4 separate regions of the Homo sapiens genome follow, and regions 2, 3 and 4 are each linked to region 1. The links are contacts of gene promoters, found by promoter capture Hi-C in human tissues and cell types (Jung and others, 2019). All regions are on one chromosome and are shown on one strand. The core of a region is centred on a gene start or on the middle of the fragment in contact, and the rest is flanking DNA. Distances in the headings are between cores, read along the strand shown. Region 1 holds the start of C9orf50 (chromosome 9 open reading frame 50). Region 2 has its middle 15 kb from the start of IER5L. Region 3 has its middle 20 kb from the start of LINC02975. Region 4 holds the start of LINC02975 (long intergenic non-protein coding RNA 2975).

Evidence for each region. Contacts are between HindIII fragments. The study calls those that stand out against the background at their distance.
Region 2: a fragment that was not itself captured here is called in contact with the fragment with the promoter of C9orf50 in region 1 in 1 of the 25 tissues and cell types used here (dorsolateral prefrontal cortex).
Region 3: a contact is called between a fragment that was not itself captured here and the fragment with the promoter of C9orf50 in region 1, in 1 of the 25 tissues and cell types used here (lymphoblastoid cells).
Region 4: a contact is called between a fragment that was not itself captured here and the fragment with the promoter of C9orf50 in region 1, in 1 of the 25 tissues and cell types used here (dorsolateral prefrontal cortex).

Annotation. Positions count from the first base shown.
Region 1 is chr9:129,619,824-129,622,386 of GRCh38, forward strand. It overlaps C9orf50 (chromosome 9 open reading frame 50), which reads right to left and starts at 1,278. Exons shown (of 7, transcript NM_199350.4): 1 at 244-1,278; 2 at 1-7. The coding sequence starts at 751. It also overlaps a transcript of NTMT1 not described here. RefSeq lists an enhancer at 740-1,390. The HindIII fragment of the contact is 8,954 bases long and covers 1-2,563 here.
Region 2 is chr9:129,161,550-129,164,112 of GRCh38, forward strand. No RefSeq gene overlaps it. Among named protein-coding and RNA genes, the nearest start is that of IER5L, 15 kb to the right of the region's middle. The HindIII fragment of the contact is 3,183 bases long and covers 1-2,563 here.
Region 3 is chr9:129,260,988-129,263,550 of GRCh38, forward strand. No RefSeq gene overlaps it. Among named protein-coding and RNA genes, the nearest start is that of LINC02975, 20 kb to the right of the region's middle. The HindIII fragment of the contact is 3,830 bases long and covers 1-2,563 here.
Region 4 is chr9:129,282,059-129,284,621 of GRCh38, forward strand. LINC02975 (long intergenic non-protein coding RNA 2975) reads left to right here and starts at 358. Exons shown (of 3, transcript NR_121587.1): 1 at 358-634; 2 at 872-1,000. The HindIII fragment of the contact is 7,354 bases long and covers 1-2,563 here.

The DNA.
Region 1 (2,563 bases), core at 28-2,527:
GGGGATGCTGGAGCCAGGAGGAAACAGTTGTGAGCCTTGGCTGGGGGACGGTCCTTTCTAGTCATGTGGCCTCGGGGTGATGGCAGACCAGCCCTCAAGGACGGGTTGCGAGGGCTCTGAGATACTCAGCTAACATTAGCATCCTTCTAGCCTGGGTGGTGGGGTGGTGGGTGCGGGGACACAAGGGACCACCCCCCACCGGAAATGACTCGGGCCCGCCCCCCGGGCCCCGCGGGGCCTCACTCAGTGGCTCCGGCTCCTCGGCGCACTTCTCCTGGAGCTGGTGCAGGAACTCACGGAACCTGCTGGGGAGGAGCTCTCCTAGGAAGGCGCCCAAGAAGTCGGGGTCCTCCCTGGCCACGCGCCTCCGGGGGCGCTCGCGCTCTCCAGGCCCTGGCTGCCTGGGCGCCGATTCCCGGGACGCGCCGGCCGACAGCAGGGGAGGCGGCAGCAGGGACCGCAGCAGCCCCCGCTTCCGCACGGCCCGCCGGGTCGCGGTGAGCAAGGCGGGCAGGCGCGGCGGGAGGCGTCCGACGCCCACCCCGGGCTTGGCGTCCCCTTCCGGCCACCACGCGGCGCCGCCCCCCGGGATCCTCCAGTCCCCGGAGCCCCGCGCGCCCAGAGCCGCTCGGAGCGCGGGCGGGGTCAGCTTGGGCAGCCGCGGGTCGCTGCTGCGTCGGAAGTCTCCGTCGCCAGGGAGCCCCTTGGGCGCCAGGTCCTGGGCCCCTGGGCGAAGTCGACGCCAGAACATGCTTGGCCCCGCACTCAGCTCACCGCACCCTCAGCGCGCGTGGGTGGGGGGCGCCGGCTGAGGTGGGGAGGGCATAGTCCAGCCCCAGGCCATAGTGCCCCGGGCGGGGCAGCGCGGTGCGGGGTGAACGCCACCGGCCCGGCGGACAGCGAGTGGCTTCAGGCGAGAGCTCCCAGAGCCTCTGTTTCCTCACCTGAAAAATGGTGACAGCAAGAGTAGCCAACTTTGGGGGTTGCTGTGACGTTTAAATGAGCAAGTACATGCCAGTCTTAGAACAGCAAGCTCGGTACAGTGCCAGGCACGCTGGCCAAGCTTACACATAGACTAGCTGCCATTCTTAGTATTTCAAAGTTATTATTATTTAGGATTTAGTCCCAGCTCCACCACTTATTAGCTTTGTAACCTTGGCCAAGCCAATTAACTTCCCTCTGCCTTCCCTGGGGGCTCTGGTCTGCAGAATGGGGATAATAGCAGCACCTGCCTCTCTGCAGCCGTGAAACGGCATCACCGCATCACCGCTGGTAGAGAGAGCACTTAGCCTGCCTTGCAGTGTTCAAAGCGTGGAACTGTTACCGTCATTAGCGCTCTACTGGGAATTAGGAAACCTGGAACCAGCTTGAGGGAAGAGAGACCTGACCAGCAGCCTCCCAGCCCTGGTGCTGCCTCAGAGACCCCTGGGTGGGGAGCCTGTTGAAAATACAGATGACTTACCCCCAGCCCCCATTCTGATTCAGTACGTCTCTGCTGGAGCCAAGACAGTTTGTTGTTCTTGTTGTTGTTGTTAAAGAGATGGGGTCTTGCTAAGACGGGGTCCTGCTGTCACCCAGGCTGGAGTGCAATGGCACCATCATAGCTCACTGCAGCCTCAAATTCTTGGGCTCAAGTGATCCTCCTGCCTCAGCCTCCTGAGTAGCTGGGACTACAGGCACACACCACCACAGTTGGCTAATTTTTGTATATTTTGTAGAAATGGGGTAGAATTTTTTTGTATTTATGTTGCACGGGCTGGTCTTGAACTCCTGGGCTCAAGTGATCCACTTGCCTTGGCCTCCCAAAGTGCTGGGATCACAGGCGTGAGTCCCCACTTCTGGCCAAGACACAGACTTTTAACAAACTCCCCCTTTGGGAGGCAGAGCCCCAGTCTTACTCCCAGCTCTGACACTGAGGGGTTTCTAAGCCTGCTTCCTCCCAACCACACCCCACTCCCAGATTGTTGTCAGCTCTGAGCTGACTCCTGGGCAGTGTCACACTCACCCTGGTGGGCTTCTGGGTGGGGCCCTAGAAGGTCCTGTGAGTTTAGAGCTCTCTACAGGCAGGCTGTAGAGCCCATCATCCCTGCCTGGTGCCTCTCCCAGCCCCTCCCGGCTGCCTCTGGGCCGCTTCAGGGTCATTGTGATCCGCCCCTCACCCCTGGGCATCTGAGTAGCAGTGGGCACTGAGGCCTGGGGACTAAGGGTGGGGCTATTGTGCCCTGGATGCCCTGGCCGCAGCCACCTGGGGCACTGGGACTCTGACCAGGGCAGCCAGGCCTACCCTTTCCAGATCTGGGAGGCTTAGGCTGGGTGGCTCTGGAAGTAGAACTTCCACCCCAAGACCAGGCAGTCAGAATACAATGGACCTAGAAATGAACAGACCCTGCGGGGCACGGTGTCTCACGCCTGTAATCCCAGCACTTTGGGAGGCCGAGGCGGGCGGATCACCTGAGGTCAGAAGTTCAATACCAGCCTGGCCAACATGGTGAAACCTCGTCTCTACAAAAAATACCAAAATTTGCCATGCATGGTGTTGTGCACCTATAATCCCAGCTACTTG
Region 2 (2,563 bases), core at 27-2,526, 460 kb before region 1:
TTACACTACTGGGAAGGTTTGAGATGGGGAGAGCTATGATTCGACTTCAACATGTTCGCATGTACGGGAGTGGAGAGGAGGAGAACGGCCAGTAGGAGGGCAAGCGCGAACACAGGAAGACCAGGGAGATCTGCAGGGAGGTTAGTGCACTAGTCCAGGAGGGAGGTGGTGTGGCTGGGCTGGGAGAGCAACAGCAATGGTACTAAGGTAGATTGTGAAGCTCTTCTTTTTTTTTTTTTTTTTTTGAGACGGAGTGTCTGTCACCAGGCTGGAGTGCAATGGCGCGATCTCGGCTCACTGCAGCCTCTGCCTCCTGGATTCAAGTGATTCTCCTGCCTCAGCCTCCCGAGGAGCTGAGATTACAGACATGCGCAACCACGCCTGGCTAATTTTTGTATTTATTAGTAGTGATGGGGGTTTCACCATGTTGGCCAGGCTGGTCATGAACTCCTGACCTCAGGTGATCCTCCTGTCTTGGCCTCCCGAAGTGCTGGAATTACAGGCGTGAGCCGCCGTGTCTGGCCTGATTGTGAATCTCTTCTGAAGGAGGATTTGCTGATGGACTGGATTTGGCTTTGTGAACAAAAAAGGAGTCACGATGCCCTGGTTTTTGGCCTGAACAACTTGCTGGATGGTGGGACGGGGCAATGGCGGGGAGAAGCAGAGGTTGTAGGTGTCTCTCCGGGGTTTGAAAGGCCCAGACAGACGAGTTCTTAGATGTCAGTATCCCAAGAGTAGAGGCCAAACATGGTGGGACCCTTGACTTGCATTCGGCACGGAGGTCCTGGCTGGAGAGAATTGTCAGTGGGTTGAAGGGACCAGGAGAAGGTGGCAGGAAGGGAGAAGGGGCCAAGGCCTGAGCCCTGGGACTCGCCGGCATTTAGAGGAAGGGAGACTGGGAACTATGAGCCGGAAGAGAGGAACTACATTGCGTCTCTCCTCCAGCTGGTATCTACATTTTTTATTTTTTCACACCAAGCACGAGAGGTGTGTGTACAAGACGCACAGTGGCGGCCTGTGGCTGTGCAGCGCCCTCTCCTCTGGCAACAGAACCTTCTTCCCAATGGAGAAGCCACGAGAAAGGGTTGAGGTGGGGCCGGTCAGCCCCCTACTCAGGGGTGGACACATGCCCAGACCTGGCCAATCACAGGGGCCCTGCTTTCCTGTGCACTGTGATTGGTTCTGGGATGAGCTTGTGACCTGGCTGTGCCAATGAGGATCATCCCCAATGCCCTCTGTTAGATCAGGTGGGAAGATGCCCTGTGCCAGGGCTGCTAAGCTGGGAAGATGCCATCCTGGGGATGCCAGTGGCAAGGCCAGGTACAGGATCTGTGGGGTGCGATACAACATGAAAATGCAGGGCCCCTTGCTCAAAAAGCAGGAAAAAGTGCCACGAAGGGTCCATAGAACGCTTCCTTCCACCATCTCTCAACTTGTCATGGCATTTTAAATTTTCTATTCAATGTCATTCTAAGTACAGAAAGGTGTACTTAGAAAGGTGTAATTATTGTAAATAATTAGCATGAATTTTACCATTCATCTTTATATTGCGTAATACCAGTTTTATTTATATTTATTTATTTATTTATTTTAAGATGGAGCCTCTCTCCCTGTCACTCAGGCTGGGGTGCAGTGGCCAATCTCGGCTCGCTGCAACCTCTGCCTCCCAAGTTCAAGCAATTCTCGTGCCTCAGCCTCCTGAGTAGCTGGGATTACAAGTGTGTGCCACCACACCTGGCTAATTTTTGTATTTTGAGTAGAGACAGGGTTTCACCACGTTGGCCAGGCTGGTATTGAACTTCTGACCTCAAGTGATCTGCCCACCTCCCAAAGTGCTGGGATTACAGGCATGAGCCACTCTGCCTGGCTGTGTAATACCAGTTATAAATATAAATACCAGAGCATTTAATTCATGTGCAGAATCGCTGAAATTGCACAATTCATATTCTGTGGCTTGTCCCTGAGTGTGCCTTGAACTGGCCAGAAAAGACAAACACAAGCCAGGCTCAGGAAGGTTATAGGGGGAGGAGAAGACCCCCTGGTTAAGGTGGTTAAGATAGTGCTTCTCCGTATGGGAGATTGCCACAAGGGTGCACACCCTCCCAGCCCCCTCCACCCCTGCTATGCCTCCCTGCGTGCTCTCTCTAGATGGGGCCTGGCAGCTGCTGGATTAACCTTCCAACCAACCACTGGGCTGATGTCCTGAGTCCTGGTACCTCCCCTTCCCACAGGCCCCCACCTCAACCTACAGCAGAGGAGTGGTCTCTAAGGACCTCAGTACCCAGATCGGGGTAGGTGAAAGGTTCACCCCACGTCTAGACACGGTCTCTGGTTGGCTGCCAGTCAGGCTGTGGTGCTGCTAATGCACAGCAGTGGCGGCTGTCACCGTGCCCTGCAAGGTGCTGCTCACGGATGCCTGAACTCAACCCTCTCTACGCCTGTGCCCAGGTCCCTGCCGAGGATGGGAGGGAGAGGCCAGGCAGAGCCAGGGCACCAGAGTGCCAGGGGGCAGGGTAGCAGGGGGACCAAGAACCTGTCTCAGGGAGGTGGGGAGGTGGCAGGA
Region 3 (2,563 bases), core at 37-2,536, 360 kb before region 1:
ACCTAGGCTGGAGTCCAGTGGCATGATCTCAGCTCACCGCAACCTCCACCTCCCAGGTTCAAACGATTCTTCTGCCTCAGCCTCCCAAGTAGCTGGGACTACAGGCACATGCCACCACACCCGGCTAATTTTTGTATTTTTAGTAGAGTTGGGGTTTCACTATGTTAGCCAGGATGGTCTCGATCTCCTGACCTCGTGGTCTGCCCCCGCCTTGACCTCCCAAAGTGCTGGGATTACAGGCGTGAGCCACCGCGTCCAGCCCCCCAAGCCTCTTCTTTCCTCACTTCCTGTTCTCTGTCCTCATTATTCCACCAGTCTATTGTCATTTTTTTCCCCTTCCCAGCCTGCCCAGCCAGGATATGCGGCAGGAGGTTCATTTTTGAAAGTATAAGAAGGGCCGCCGGGAATGAGTGTCTCACGGGGACAGAGTGTGCGTTTGGGAAGATGAGACGGTTGTGGAGATGGATGGTGGGGATGGTTACACAACAACGTGAATATGCTTAAAGCCACGTTCACGGAACACGTACAAATGACTAAAATGGTAACTTTCTGGTATGGATATTTTACCACAATAAAAAAAAAATGCTAAAAAAATTGTAAAGAAAAAGTGCTTTGTGTTTGCCGAACTTTTGAGGATGGGCCGCCCACTGCACATTTGCCGTTTCCCAAGCGCCTCCCACGGGCCAGGCCACGCACTTCCTCCTTTCATTCTGGAAACAAGCTTGAGGAGAGAGGTGGCGTCCTCCTTGTAGACGAGACTGAGGTTCAGAGCCTGGCAGGGGCGAGGCTGTCTTTGCAAACCCGACAGGCCTCTCTCTGGTTCTAAGAAGCACGGCAGGGACGGGGTAGGAATTTGGGCTCAAAATGGGCCTCTGGGCTGCGGAATCTTGAGCAAATTGCTTCCCATCACTGATCTTCCTCTTCTGACTATTGGGGACAATAATAGTGTCCTCCCTCGTGCAGGGGGAGGATTTGCTGAGATGTCGGAAGGTCCTAGCACAGCATCTTGGCCACCATCAAAAATAAAATTCTCCCCAGAGCTCTCCACGATGCCTCCCTTGCTGTCCAGAGGACAGAGGGCTGGAGGTAAGGTCAGGAGACCCGTGTCAGGGTCTCAGCCCTGAGGCTGACTTTGTCTGTGACCTTGGGGAAGTCCCCTGCCTTCCCTGGTCCTCAGGCTGCCCTCTGTAAAGTTAGGAGAGTGGGTAGAGTCAGCAGGGCTCTCTGGTTCTGGTTTTCTGGGGTTTCTCCCGTAATCCTGGTCCTGTCCAGAATCAATGTCCTCTCTCCCACCACCCGCTCTCTGGGCAGAGGGGTCTGGGCCCATCTCCAGTTCCACCTTTGCCCTCCACCCTGTCTTCTCAGGAGCGTCCAACCCCCAAGCAAGAGGAAAGGGAGGGGAAGGTGAAGGCAACAGAGTTCTTGATCCCAGGGTATGAGTCGCTGCCTAACACCCAGACCTGGCTTCTGACAGAAGCGCCAGCAGGAATTTCCCGCACCTCCGGTGTGAATCCTGTCCAGCTTCCTGCCATTGGCTTGAATTGTTGCCTGGTAACTCTAGGTGCAAATCACCCCTTCCCCGCAAACTACATGCTTTTTTTTTTTTTTTTTTTTTCTGAGACGGAGTTTCGCTCTTGTTGCCCAGGCTGGAGTGCAGTGGTGTGATCTTGGCTCACTGCAACCTCCGCCTCCTGGGTTCAAGCAATTCTCCTGCCTTAACCTCCCCAGTAGCTGGGATTACAGGCATGTGCCACCACGCCCGGCTAATTTTTATATTTTTAGTAGAGATGGGGTTTCACCATGTTGGCCAGGCTGGTCTCAAACTCCTGACCACAAGGGATCTGCCCACCTTGGCCTCCCAAAGTGCCGGGATTAAAGATGTGAGCCACTGTGCCTGGCCTCCCCACAACTACATGTAAGTTTCAGGATCTCAGAGACACGCTTCCTTTTGCCTGTCTCTTCTACCGTCTCCACAGGACTGGGCCAGGGGGGTGCTCCCGAGATATCCCACAGTTTTAGAGGGCCATTTAGCTAGGATCCTGGACGCTGGGAGCAAGAAAAAGAGAAAAATGGTGATTCCAAACTATAGGCTTCTGGAGGAAGAACACGTGCAGGGGAAGGCAGGCAAGGTCAGCACTCTGGGGGCTCCAGCAGATGCCAGGATGGTGCACACCGAATTCCTGGCACACGGGGGCTTAGTGACAGGACCTGGGCTATGGTGGTCACTGATAAATCATAATATTAAGAAACTCTAATGGGACATCCACAGGTGCTGGATGGAGAAAGGTAAGCATTTGGAGACATTTGACCACGATGATAATTTTCACACTAGGTGATGTTTTAGGGGTGATCACTGCATTTGAGGCACTGTGCTGAGCACTGACAGTCAAATTTCGTTTACATCTTAGAATGAGGCAGAGACTGTTGGCTTCTGCATTTTACAGATGGAGGCTGTATTAGTCTGTTCTCACATTGCTATAAAGAACTACCTGAGACTGGGTAATTTATAAAGAAAAGAGGTTTAATTGGCTCATGGTTCTGGGTAATTTACAAAGAAAAGAGG
Region 4 (2,563 bases), core at 48-2,547, 340 kb before region 1:
AACTCCCCAACGCTTTTCTATCAAAATGCCATCGGCAGGCAACAATAGCCAGCTAGAATTTCCTAACATTGCTTATTTTAATTGTAATTTATTTTTACTTTTACCTTCTATTTATGGCCCATGATCTTAGTTTTTTTTCCACCTAACAGTAGTCACATAAAGTTCCCTTATGGATGCATTTACCTAAGTAATAGCAGTGAATGCTTTTAAAGAAAAATAGAGAGCAAATAACAGAATAAGGTGCCACTGGAAGGGCCGGGTCAAGAGGAGGGGGTGGACGGACCTGTGGGTGGCACTGGCTTTTCGTAACTCAGGAATCAGGAAGTGTAGTTGACACTTGTTTTGTTATGTTTGCTCCAATGGAAAAGGAAGCTGTGGGTGGAGACACATCTGACGGGAGGGATTTGGATCCTGCCAGCTCGTCCCTGCAACCCCCTACTCCGGTCCCCTCAAACCTGTCCGTGGCTGGCAGCCCTGTGATACCTCGCCACATTCTGCAACAGAATCCGAGATAGAGGTAGAAGTGGGGGAGTACGTCGTGGCTGTCAGGGCAGCTTTCTGTAAAATGCTGCCTGGAGGAGCATGTGATTCCAGACCCTCCTCTCTGCAACGAAAGTGAGGTTGACACCTGCAGGTATGATTGTAACACGACTTTTAGTTCAGGTGAGCGCAGCCTTCCTCTCCTGGAGCTCTGGCTCATCCAGCCCTGAGCTCCCCAGTCCAAGGCTCTCCGGGTACCTTGGGCAGCCTCCCTAGCAGGGCGGTGGGATCGGACCAGCTGTTCCCGGCTGCTGGTCCGTTCCAAGCTGCAAGGGCCTAGGTGCGGAGCAATGACCGGCAGGCCGAGCTCCCTCCCTCCCTCTCGTTGCAGGCCTGGGGCCTCCTGGCCCACTGAGCAGAACACACAGAAGCTGGGCCCACCCCTGCCCTCCCCACAAAGGGTCACGGGAGCCACCGCCTGACTTTGAAGCCCACTGACTTGCGGCTGACAAGAGAAAAGGTATTTGGAATTAAGTGAAGGGCGGGAGGCAGGGGCGGGCTAGGCCCTGGGGTCACATAGCTGCAGGCACCTTGACTGCAGCTGCCGTTGGCCCCAGTCCCTTACTTTCTAGGGTTCTGCAGTGGGCCAGAGAAGGGACTATTATTATTATTTCATAACATTTCATCCTGGCTTATTTCTAGCCCCTCAAACGGTGTCCGTACAGGGTTGAACTGCCAAGGGCTCCCAGACCCCTGCTGCCAAGGGGCGGCTGGCTTGTGGTGGCTCTGGGGAGGCAGTGGTGCCCGTCACTGGCACTGGGGAATCTTGTCTGACTTCCCTTTTCCTCCATCTCCTCCCCAGGGCCCGGCTTTTCCTGTGCCCTTCATTTTCCTCCCCCTGTTCTGGGACTTGTGGGTGTCCCCAGAGCAAATTCTTGGGGAGCCATGCCCAGCCGGTCTAGGGGGCACTCAGGGGCTTGCATTTTGTCAGGCTCCCTCGTGGTCTGGTGTGGGTACTCTGGGGACCACATTTGGAGAACCTGGGCCCCCCAGTTGTTAACTAGCAGACGAGGGCCTGTACTTAGGGGCCATTGTCCAGCGTTTAGTGCAGAGTGACTGGAGAAATGGGAGGACCAGACCCTGTGATGGGAGTGAGGGTAGGGGGCACAAGATGGGCCGCCACCCTCCAGGATCTCCTGGTTCACACCAGTGCCTGCGAGAGGCCCCTGGGGCCTCGTGAAAGCACAGGTGGCTGGTTGCATCCCAGGGGTTCTGATTCCCAGGACTGGCCAGGCCAGAGAATCTGAATTTCTGACAAGTTCCTGGGCAAGGCCAATGCTGCTGGCCAGGAGGACCACCCTTTGAGAACCACAGGTGGACACCAGCAGCCGCAGACCCGGCTAGGACCAGGGCAGAGGCCACGCCCTCCCCATTCCCCCGGAGCTGCCTCGGCCCTTGGAGGAATGAGCAGGACCTAAACAGGAACCACGTGATGATATTGACGTGGCACCTGCATGGGAGCACTGCTGCCTGTCCACACTGAGTGCGGCTTCCAAGACCACCCGCAACACACACAGCCCTGCAAGGCGGGAGCTCACGTGCCCCTCACTTTACAGGCGAGAAAGCTGAGGCTCAGAGAGGGCAAGTGACCTGCATAAGGCCACACAGCCAGCAAGTCAGGGAACGGGTGGCCAAACCCAGACCTGCCCAGTTTCATGTTCGCGCCGTGAGGGGTCCAGCGGCTGTGGTGTCACTTCTGGTTACCCCGTCATTTAGAGGGGAAAGATGTGGAGAAATAGGAGTGTGTGTGGCAGGAAGGGACTGGGGGAGAGAAAAGGGCCCAGGAATCAGGCGTGCGTGTGGCGTTGAAAGGAGCAACAACTCAAAGTCACGCTCAAGGTCATGCTTAAGGTCATGCTCAAGGTCATGCTTAAGGTCACGAGTTCACCCCAGGAATCCCGCCCTCACTGGAGCTGAAGCAGACCCCTCCCCCAGGCTTCAGGGGTCTCCTGTGGCCAGGTGATCCCCTCCCCGTCAGCACCCCAGGGCACACAATGACACCTGATATTCCGCTAAACAGGAC